Linked DNA regions of Homo sapiens: regions 1 and 2 are each linked to region 3. The links are contacts of gene promoters, found by promoter capture Hi-C in blood cells and fetal thymus (Javierre and others, 2016). All regions are on one chromosome and are shown on one strand. The core of a region is centred on a gene start or on the middle of the fragment in contact, and the rest is flanking DNA. Distances in the headings are between cores, read along the strand shown.

Region 1 (3,654 bases), core at 714-3,213, 670 kb before region 3:
GCATTTTGAGGGATACTCAGCTTATGTTTATTACGATTACATGTAACCTTTTAATAATTATTTTGAAAATTGAACATTTTAGTAAAAGGATTTTAATCACCAGAACTGACTCAAAGTGGCATAGAAATGGGTATTATATAAGGGATATAAAGCAAAAACTATATCTAGGAAGGCTGGGGAAAAAAACCCTGTAGCCAAAGTCTCTTTTATACCCCCCAGTCAGGTCCCTTGAGTGAATATTCTGGCATTCAATCACATTTTGCATTGGAAAGAGCAAAAGATGAAAATATATCAGCATTAGTATATTTTATGTCTTTTTAATTTGAGGTAATTAGATTTTTTAATTTTTAAAAAGAATGGAATAGGAATCATTAAAAACAGACTAAAGTAACATGAAATCTTAAGATGCTACATATAAAATACATCACTTTAAATATGAAACTAATTTTTAAAGTCCTGCAGATTAATCTGTTGGAGATATATATTGAAACCCACTTTCAGAGACATTAAAATGCGGGGTAAAAAGTGCATTTTAGAACTGATAAACTACTTCATCAATGATTTTAATGGTTCCTTTTCTTTAGATTTTCAAATTCGTTGATATTGGCAAACAGAATTGGCTTTCAGTTTTCAGTCTCTGTATATATATTTGTATTTCTACTCATAGTTTTATTTTTAAACCACTTTATTCCTCTAAATTGATTTGAAGGAGTCCCATTCATTTTACTTGTTTTTTTTTTAAAAAAAACCTTATCTGGGTTTTCTTCATGCTTTTGACTATTTTTGTTTGCTTTTTCTATTTCAAAAATATATTTCACTATTTTCTTTTTATTTGTGTGTATTTCTGTTGAGTACATGTGCTTGGTTAATATATTTTCAGTCTCTTTTAAATTGGAAGCATTTAAGGCTACAAGATTTCCTTTGAATATTGCTGTATCTGGGGCCCATGGTTTTTTTTTCTTCTTGAGATGGAGTCTCGCTCTGTCACCAGGCTGGAGTGCAGTGGCGTGATCTCGGCTCACTGCAACCTCCGCCTCCCAGGTTCAAGTGATTCTCCTGCCTCAGCCTCCTGAGTAGCTGGGACTACAGGCATGCGCCACCACGCCTGGCTAATTTTTGTATTTTTTAGTAGAGACGGGGTTTTACCATGTTGGCCAGGATGGTCTCGATCTCTTGACCTCGTGATCCGCCCGCCTCGGCCTCCCAAAGTGCTGGGATTACAGGCGTGAGCCACTGCACCTGGCCCCATAGTTTTTTAAAAATTAACTTCTAGATAATTATTATTTTAATCTTGATTTCTCTTTGATTCACTAGTTACCTAGGTGTCTGTATGTTTGTGTGTGTTTCTAAATTTTCAAAAACCTGTGAAAAAAATTTAGCATATGAACTTATAATGTGTGTGATCTGTGAAACTTCATTAAAAAGTTAAAACATTAATTTATTATTTGTGGCCAAATATACGTTAGGTTTTTAATACATTTTATAGATATATGATGTGAAATAATATATATTCTCTATAAAACACAAAGTTCTACTTAATTATATTAAGCTTCGTGATTATATTATTTAAATATCCTCTGATTATTTTGTTTAATTCTGAAAAGTGGGCACAAAACGCCCAGCTATATTGTTTCAAGGTCTTCTGTTAATATAGGGGTTTTACTTTTTATGTTTGGTTGCTGTATTTTTCACTGTGATGTTGAATTCCAATTTCTCTAATATTGAAAATTCTGCTTTGGCCAGTAGAGCTGCACTAGGTCTGTTGTGTCAGCTTGTTCTAGGTATATATCCTTATAAACACCATATAGTTAGTGTTTTATTTTTAACCCAATTTGTTTTTGTATTTTAATTGGAGAACACCATATATCTATAGGCAGGCTTACTCAATTTCTATGAAATCACCTTTTAAAATATCTTTTTCTATTAAAGAGCAGAAAAGTAACTAAAATTCTCAAACTCTGTTGCTCTTTCCTATGTAGCTACTCGTCATGGTCATTTAATGCATCGTTTCTCTTCATCTCTCTGTTCCCTAAAGATTGAAGTTTTCTAAGACTCAGCCTCTGACACATTTACTAATTATACTTAATTGTTCCTTGGTGATTTCACCCCCGTGGGTTTGTTTCCCTTGAACTCCACACTCACTACGTTCAGTAGCCTTCTCTACACTACTTGAATTATTTTTATTTAGGTATATAAAATACTGGTGGCAATAGCATAAATTCTAAGTGTTAAACTTGATGAAGTAATATTGTACACCTATGTAAGCACTGCCCAGACTGATATACATTTACAGCCTAAGGAGGCTTCTTTGTGCTGCTTTGCTATTAATATTCCATTGCCCAGAAATAGCCCCTCTCCTAATTTCCATAACCAGAGATAAGCTTACATGTTTTTCCACTTCATGTAAATGGAATCGTACGCTGAACCCTTTTTGTGTCTGGTTTCTTTTGCTCAACATTATTTCATGCAACAATAAGGATGGCTCTCTCAGACATAATATTCATTTTTATTTATGTAGTGTTTTATGGGAATTGCACTGAGTTAGAGAAACTGAAGTCTGAAGGAATAGTTTCCACAAGACTGCCCTCATTTCAGACACCAGGCACAAGTTCAGAGGTTCCAAGGGCTACCCATACTTCAGACCAGCTGACTACAAATTTGGGACTTGTCATGACTACCCTTGATAATTCAGTATAATAATTCACAGAACTCAAGATAATACTATACCTATGATTACAACTTATTTATTTTTATTTTTTTTGAGACAGAGTCTTGCTCCTGTTGCCCCGGCTGGAGTGCAGTGGCACGATCTCGGCTCACTGCAACCTCCGCCTCCTGGGTTCAAGCGATTCTCCTGCCTCAGCCTCGTGAGTAGCTGGGATTACAGGCACCCACCACCATGCCCAGCTAAATTTTTGTACTTTTAGTAGAGACGAGGTTTCACCATGTTGGTCTTGAACTCCTGACCACAAGTGATCTGCCCACCTCAGCCTCCCAAAGTGCTGGGATTACAGGCATGAGCCACCGCACCTGGCCTATGATTACAACCTTATTATAGTGAAAGGATACAAATTACAACTAGCCAGAGGAAGAGACACATAGAATGAAGTCTGAGAGGGGTCCAAAGATGAGTCTTCTGGTCATCCTATCCCTATGGAGTCCTGGATGGCATTACCTCCTTCCAGCTACAATGTGTACTGATAAGTGTTGCAATCCAGGGAAGCTCACCTTAGCCTTTGGTTTCCAGTGTTTTTCTTGGGGTTTGATAATATACTGCCCACATAGCTGACCTTTGTCTTTCTGCCCTTCTTGCTGGTTTGTCTAATACTGTTTGTCTGCCATTTCCCCAGAAGTCAAAACTGAGATAGCATGCCTCAAAGCACTCATCATAAATCATGTTATACTGTCGGGTGGCCATCCAAAGCACCCAGCCAAACCAAGACACTGTTATTGGGCAGGACATTCCAGAGGCCTAGAGTACCCCCAGTGGGCCTCCCAGTACCCAAGGTAAAGGCAAGACCTCTCTTTGGGTGAAGTTAATTTATCACTATACAGGAATATACTTTGACTTACTCATTCTTTCGTTGATGGGTATCTGTATTGTTTCTACAACTCTGGGAACCTTCTTATACATGTCTTTATGTAGACATATTT
Region 2 (3,464 bases), core at 476-2,975, 570 kb before region 3:
ACACGTAAGGAGACCGAGGCAGGCGAATCACTTAAGCCCAGCAGTTTGAGACCAGCCTGGGCAACATAGTGAGACCCCATCTCTACTATAAATAAAAAATTAGCCAGGCATGATGGTGCATGCCTGTAGTCCCAGCTACTTGGTAGGCTGAGGTAGGAGAATCACTCAAGCCCAGGAGGATGAGGCTGCGGTGAGCTATGATTATGCCACTACACTCCAGCCTGGGTGACAGAGCAAGACCCAGTCTCAAAAAAAAAAGTAAATAAAATAAAATATAATTTTCTCATTGTTTCTGGTATATAGACTTGCCATTGATTTTTTTTTTTCTTAAAACTCCTATGACAGATTATTGCAGTTGATTTTGAGATATTGATTTTATATCCCCCCACCTTGCTTAACTCTTATTTATTCTGACGTCTTGTAGATTCTTTTGGATGTGGGGTCATCCAACTTGATCATATCATTGATGAATAAAGATACTTTTTGGTTGTAAATAATTGTCTTTGTCTATTAGTATTGATTTCTTTTCTTCTTTTTTAACCTTTATTTTAATTCTTATCTTGCTGCACTGGCTCCACCTCCCAGAACAGTTTTGAATGGTGAATATGGGCACCCTGTCTTATTCACAGTTTTAGATACTTCACTTTTACTTATGTTTGCACTTGTTTTTTTTGTAGGTGTCCTTTATCAGGTTAGGGACGTTGCTTTTTATTGCTAATTCGCTCTTGAGTTTTTATCATGAAGGAATATTGCATTTTTAAAATGCCTTTTCTGCATCCATTGAATTGATTGGTCAGGTGTGGTGGCTCATGCTTGTAATCCCAGCACTTTGGGAGGCTTAGTCGAGCAGATCACCTGAGATCAGGAATTCGAGACCAGCCTGGCCAACATGGTGAAACCCCATCTCTACTAAAAATACAACAACAAAAAATTAGCCGAGCGAGGTGGCAGGTGCCTGTAATCCTAGCTATTTGGAAGGCTGAGGCAGGAGAATCGCTTGAACCTGGGAGGCAGAGGTTTCAGTGAGCCAGGATCGCGCCATTGCACTCCAGCCTGGGTGACAAGAGCAAAATTCCATCTCAAAAAGAAAAAGAAAAGAAAAGAAATGATCCTAAGTGTTTTCTCTTTAATCTGTTAACGTGCCTAATAATTTTAATTTATTTCCAGTATCATGTACACCTTTATTGGGAAAAACCTAACTTAGCCATGATGTGTGATGAATTTTTACATATTACTGGATTCAGTTTGCTAATAACTTGCTTAGAATTTTAAATCTGTGGCATGTGTAAGACTGGCCAGTAATTTCAATTCTTCATAATGTCTTTATACAAGTTACTCTATCCCAGGAGAACTGTGGCCTTGGCCTGTGAACCAAGATTGTTTTCTACATTTTTAAATGGTTGGGGGAAATAATCAAAAGAATTATATTTTATGACACATGGAAATTATATGAAATTCAAATTTTAGTGTTCATGAATAAAGCTTTATTGGAACATAACCACATTCATCCATTTATGTAACATCTATGGCTGCTTCTGTGCTGCATGGCAGAGTTGAGGAGTTGCAGCAGAGATGGTATGTCCCACAGAGCCTAAGATACTTACTATTTGGCCCTTGACAAAAAAAGTTTGCTGACCTCTGGTCTAGCCTCATAAAATATATCAGTTTTCCTTTTCTTTTTCCCATGGTAGGATCTGGGAGTACTCATGTTATCAATGGTGTGAGCAAGGCCACTCTTCAGATTATTTGTTTATTCCCTGTCTTCTATGCCATTTACTACCCGCATCCTCCCCCCGCCCATAAGGCAGTCGTGTTAATGTGCATCGTTTTCTTAGTATGTATTCATTCATGCAAAATGTTTTTCTCTTTTGTTAAGGTCCAGGGTGGTCAGTTTTTCAAAATCTTCCATATATGATTGAGAAGAATGTTATTTGAATTGAGTGCATTGTTCTATATGCAGCCATTAGATCAAGCTTAATTTAGTATCTAAATATTCTGTTTTTACTGACTTTTTGTCTGTTGTATCTATCAGTTATTTCTAGTGTTTTGTTAAAATCTGCCACTGTGATTAGGGTTCGTCTATTAGAGTTTCTATTTCATTTATGCATATGTGTATGTATATATAATATGTATTTATTATTTATTAGGTAAGCATAAAATTATCCTTTTCTAACTGTCATCTTTCTGAATATTTATGTTTTGGATGTGTCTCTAATAACCAGCGTAGAGCTGGGCTTTGGTTTTTGACAACTTTGACCAACTTTGTCCTTTTTTTTTTTTTTTTTTTTGTTGAGACAGAGTCTCGCTCTGTCGCCCAGGCTGGAGTGCAGTGGTGCGATCCCGGCTCACTGCAACCTCCACTTCCTGGGTTCAAGCAGTTCTCCTGCCTCAGCCTCCCGAGTAGCTGGGATTACAGGTGCATGCCGCCACGCCTGGCCAATTTTTTTGTATTTTTAGTAGAGAGGGGGTTTCACCGTGTTAGCCAGGATGGTCTCGATCTCCTGACCTCATGATCCCCCCACCTCGGCCTCCCAAAGTGCTGGGATTACAGGCATGAGCCACCGCACCTGGCGACCAGCTTTGTTCTTTAACGAGAGTATTTAGTCATTTACAGTGCTTGTAATTACTAATATAATTGAAGGTATCATTTTTGTGCTTTTAATTCTACCTTTTCTGTATTTCATTATCTTCATTTCATTTTCCCTTCTATGAGTTTGAAAGTTATAAGCTATTTGTGTTTATTTAGTGGTTACCTTGAAAATTTCAATATACTTTCTTAACTTACTAGTGTCTAAAACTAAAAAATATTATTATATTCTTGGTAAATAAGGAAGTAGGATATATTCTAACTAATCAAACAACTTACATTATTGTCAGGTATTTTTCTTCTTTTTTTAACCCATAAGAAATTTTTATTTTATGTATTGAGTGTTATCTTAGATTATCCATGTATTTACGACTTTCTTGGTTCACCATTCTTTCTTACATGTCAAGCTCTCCATCTGGGATCACTTTCCTTTAGATGGAATTAAATAGTAAATTTCTCTCTGATTTTGGTGTTTGTTTTTTTTTTAACATCTTTATTTGCCCTCATTTGTGAAAGGTGTTTTACCCTCACACTGGGATATTCCGCTGTCTTCTGGTTTACATTTTTGTTATTAAATAGTCATCTGTCAATCAGACTTTTTTTTTTCTGTAGATAATCTATCTTTAATCTCAAATTGCTTTTCACGTATTCTCTTTGTATTTAGTGCTCTGCAGTTTTGGTGTGATTGTCTAGGCATGGATTTATTTTTATTTATTCTGTTTAAGACTTATTGGGCTTCCTGAATCTGAATAATGCCAATTCTGAAAATTTCTTAGCTGTCCTGTCTTCCAATACTGCCATTTTCTTAATTCTTTCTCTTTTCTCCTTCTAGAACTTCAGTTAAATATCTATTAAGCCATCTCACATTATCTTCTTA
Region 3 (3,563 bases), core at 36-2,535:
GTTTAATCTGCCCTATTAATTGCAATTTTCACAGTTAACTAGTACTATTTTTTATTTAAATAATAGTATGTATGTAACAGAATAGTAAAGATGTAACCTGTGGATGCTGTTTTACAGCAGCAGAAACTGGAACACATGCAGTCTCATGATTGTCCTACTCTTTTGCCAGATCATTGCATTGTCTGCCCAGGCACCCCTCATCCCATCTCTCTCCATCCCTTTTCTTACCTTTTCATGTTCCTTGTCTTTTCATGACAGCATTTATCAATGTCTGAAAGTAGAATGTTGTTGATTGACTCTCTCTTCAACTAGAACATAAGCAATGAGCGGCCCAGCCTTTGTCCCACACACTGCAGTGTGTCCCACTTCTAAGAAAGTGTCCAACACACAGCAGGAACTCAGTCAGCATTTCTTGAATGAATTAAGTGAAGTGATGCATACAGGCCACATTCTGAGCTGCTGGAGGAGCCAGTAGTTGATTACCAAACTCTAGTCCTTTATCTTGGTGTCCTGATGTCCTGACTGATACACAGTTTGTAGGCAAATAGCTGGTGGGGTTTAGTAGTATGGGATAGAATAAAGGGAGATGTAATTGGGACACTCTCCACATTATCTGCCCCCATGAAAAGCTAGTTCCAGGTGTTGCCATCTCTGCCCCACACTGGGCTTGCCTTAGTCCTCGTTCCCGCCTTTTCCAGACAGCAGTGCTGAGAAGCAGGAGCCCCTGAGCTTGGAGACGCAGGAAGAGCCCTGGGAGGCCCAGATCAAAGGGAGGCAGTCAGCTCATGGAGCCGAGGAATGTTCTGCTGACACCCACCCCGAGGGTATCCGGTATGTTTCTGTGCACCAGCGACCCCTCCACACCTCACCAGATTGGTTCCCCAGCCCCGTGGGACCCAATTCCGGGTCAATTCCAATTTGATTCCAGTCCAGAATCAAATCAGAAGAGCAATCCCGAGTGCCCACCTCACGGTCTGAAGCACCTCCTCCTACACCCGGACCCAAACACGAGGTCGGCTCAAGGAGGCACTGAGGTCACGACAGTCAGGGTCCTGCGCTGCTTGTCGCATGCAGTCTCCTTCCCCGAACCGCCGCCTGCACGGCCTCCACTGTTTTCCTATTGGGCTGCAGCCTGAGAGCCCTGACAATGCGGCCCACAAACCGGGAACGCGAAAGTGCACGTACCAGGCGCGATCACCAGGCGCTAGCGCTGAGGGGGGACTCGCGTCACAGTAACCGCCACCGTTGCCGGGGGACTGGCCCCAGCGGCTTGGCCCCCAGGCGTCTGTGGCAGTGCGTCCCCTCTCCGCGGGATCGTCGCCATGGTCCTGCGATCCTAGGAGTCGGGCAAGGCCGAACCTGCCTGAAGAAACCTCAAGCGGAGATTCAAGGAAGCACCACGTGATCCCTAAGGATCCCAAAGATGCGTCGGGCATGCATGGGCGGTGTGAGGGTGCGTCTCCCTGACAGGTGTCCCCGCTGGGATTTCGAGGTACGGCCTGCCTGTGTTCCCCGGGGCGCTCTCTTTCCGGAGGGGTTTCCTGGCAGAGAGCAGAACCGCGCAGCCTCAGGAGCTGCCTGGCTGTGTGTGTTTCTGTGCGACTGTTGGATGTTTCCGTGTGTCTTTCTGTGTGTGCGTGTGAGTGTGTGTGTGGTGTGCGGTGAAAGAAATGTGGCTCGTGCAGTGAAGCGCGGTTTCTCTGTAGTTCGCCTACGCTCTGATGCGCCCGTCTCTTTGGCCGGGCTTGGGTTGCGGGGCAAGCGTTCTTTGTTTCGCTCTTGGTTCCTAAAGCCTCGGTGAAGTGGGGGGCTGGCTGCGACCCGCAAACGTCCAAATCACCTCCCCTCCCAAGCCGCCCACTCTTCCAGAAAGAAGACCAGCACACGACAACCAAGAACAAATTCCTCCAGGGGCCCATGGTCCTGCGGCACACCCAAGGCTGGACGGACCCTAGCTGTCCTGTCCTCAGTACCCCCTTGAGCCCACTTCTAATTCGGTGGCTGGCGGAGTCGCAGCTTCAGGACCTGAGGCGGGCACTCCTTCATCCTCTTCAGATTTCATTCTGGATTAAAGGATGTGTGCAGAAAAAAGGTCAGATGGGGGTGAAGATACAATCCGCTGAGGTGTGGAGGAGGTCTCGCACCTTCACCTGCAGAACAGGTGCAGACAGATGTCAAAGAAACTGTTTCCAACGCCATCCCCTTTTCCTCTTCACTGTACAACCTGTCCACACCATGGCGCTGTGCTGGCGATAGAAGACACGAGTGTTCGGAGAACCTTTGGACCGAAGACTGTCGCCTTTCTGGCCAGGTCCCCTGTTGGACCCTGGTTCCCCGAGGCACATGGGAGTGGGATGGATTGATCCTGCCTGGGCTGCGGCCTCTACTCTGTTCTCCCTCTTTTCTTGCCTTCCCTGATTCTCGTCGGCCCAGGTTTTCCTTGGTCTGGCTCACAGTCCTCCAGAACGTCCTTCACAGCAAATGTTTCCCAGTTCGTCCAGGACCACCTTGGCGGGGACGTAGGTGATGAGTGTTTCCTTCTCAACACTCACATTTCTTAATGACTGGGTAGCTGTGATGCTCTTGGAACCGTGGGTGCCCGTAGCTTTCCCCAATAAGGAAACTCTTGGTCTCCCCATTGCATCAGATGGCTGCATGATTCACATAGAATGAGAGGTAGCCAGCCGTAGCTGGCCTTTGCCTTCTAATGAAGGCTATGTTTCATCTCATCTGCTGGTGTTTTCTCATTGTTGAGGGGTCTCCCATTGCTCTGTTCCTGGCTGGGACTGCCTCTCAGCACTGCACCTTTTCGTTGCCAGGGATTTCACGGAGCAAAAGGGACTGGGGGTTAGCTGGGTGTAGACCCGGTGGTGGGTTGTGATCCCGGTGTGGGTGCTGGATCACTTTGCAGGATCCTCTTGGCTCCTCTGGCAGGAATCCCTGGAGGAGGCTTGGACTCCGGCACAGGCCCTCCTATGGTTTCAGGTGTGCTTTGCTTGTGCTTCGCTTTCTTGGGGGTATCCTCAGTGGCCCTCGCCAGCATGCCTGGATATCCCTTTTGGGCTTGGATTCACCCCAGAAGGCCTCTGAGACACTCTCTCCACATTTTCTGCCCCCATGGGATGCCAGTTTTAGGTGTTGCCACCTCTGCTTCACATCGGGCTTGACTTTGTCCTTGTTCCCGCCTTTTCTGGACAGCAATGCTGAGAAGCCGAAGGCCCTGGTCTTGGAGACCAGGACAGGGCCCTGGGAGGCCCAGGTCGAAAGGGGGCCAGTCAGCTCATGGGGCGAGGGAATGTCCTGCTCACACCCTCCACTGGGGTCTCAGGTATGTTTTCCTACCCCAGCGACCCCTCAACTCCTCACCAGATTGGATCCCCAGCCCCATGGGACCTGATTCCTGCCCACACCCTCCAATCTAGAATCAAATCAGAGAGCAGTCCCGAGTGCCCACCTCAAGGTCTGAAGCGCCTCCTCCTCCACCCAGACCCGTACACGAAGTGGGCTGAAGGAGGCACTGAGGTCAGGACTGTCAGGGTCCTGCGCTGCTGGTCTCACGCAGC

The links. Contacts are between HindIII fragments. The CHiCAGO score rates a contact against its expected background, and 5 or more counts as called.
Region 1: a contact is called between a fragment that was not itself captured here and the fragment with the promoter of ZNF571-AS1 in region 3, in 1 of 17 cell types (monocytes). The highest score is 5.2, in monocytes.
Region 2: a fragment that was not itself captured here is called in contact with the fragment with the promoter of ZNF571-AS1 in region 3 in 1 of 17 cell types (naive B cells); the score reaches 5.5 in naive B cells.

The regions. Positions count from the first base shown.
Region 1 is chr19:36,881,322-36,884,975 of GRCh38, forward strand. It overlaps a transcript of ZNF345 not described here. Among named protein-coding and RNA genes, the nearest start is that of ZNF345, 32 kb to the left of the region's middle. The HindIII fragment of the contact is 832 bases long and covers 1,548-2,379 here.
Region 2 is chr19:36,981,626-36,985,089 of GRCh38, forward strand. It overlaps a transcript of ZNF568 not described here. Among named protein-coding and RNA genes, the nearest start is that of ZNF568, 67 kb to the left of the region's middle. The HindIII fragment of the contact is 491 bases long and covers 1,481-1,971 here.
Region 3 is chr19:37,547,664-37,551,226 of GRCh38, forward strand. ZNF571-AS1 (ZNF571 antisense RNA 1) reads left to right here and starts at 1,286. Exons shown (of 6, transcript NR_038248.1): 1 at 1,286-1,492; 2 at 3,199-3,328. LOC124904708 reads right to left here. Exons shown (of 2, transcript XR_007067248.1): 1 at 229-3,563. The HindIII fragment of the contact is 14,204 bases long and covers 1-3,563 here.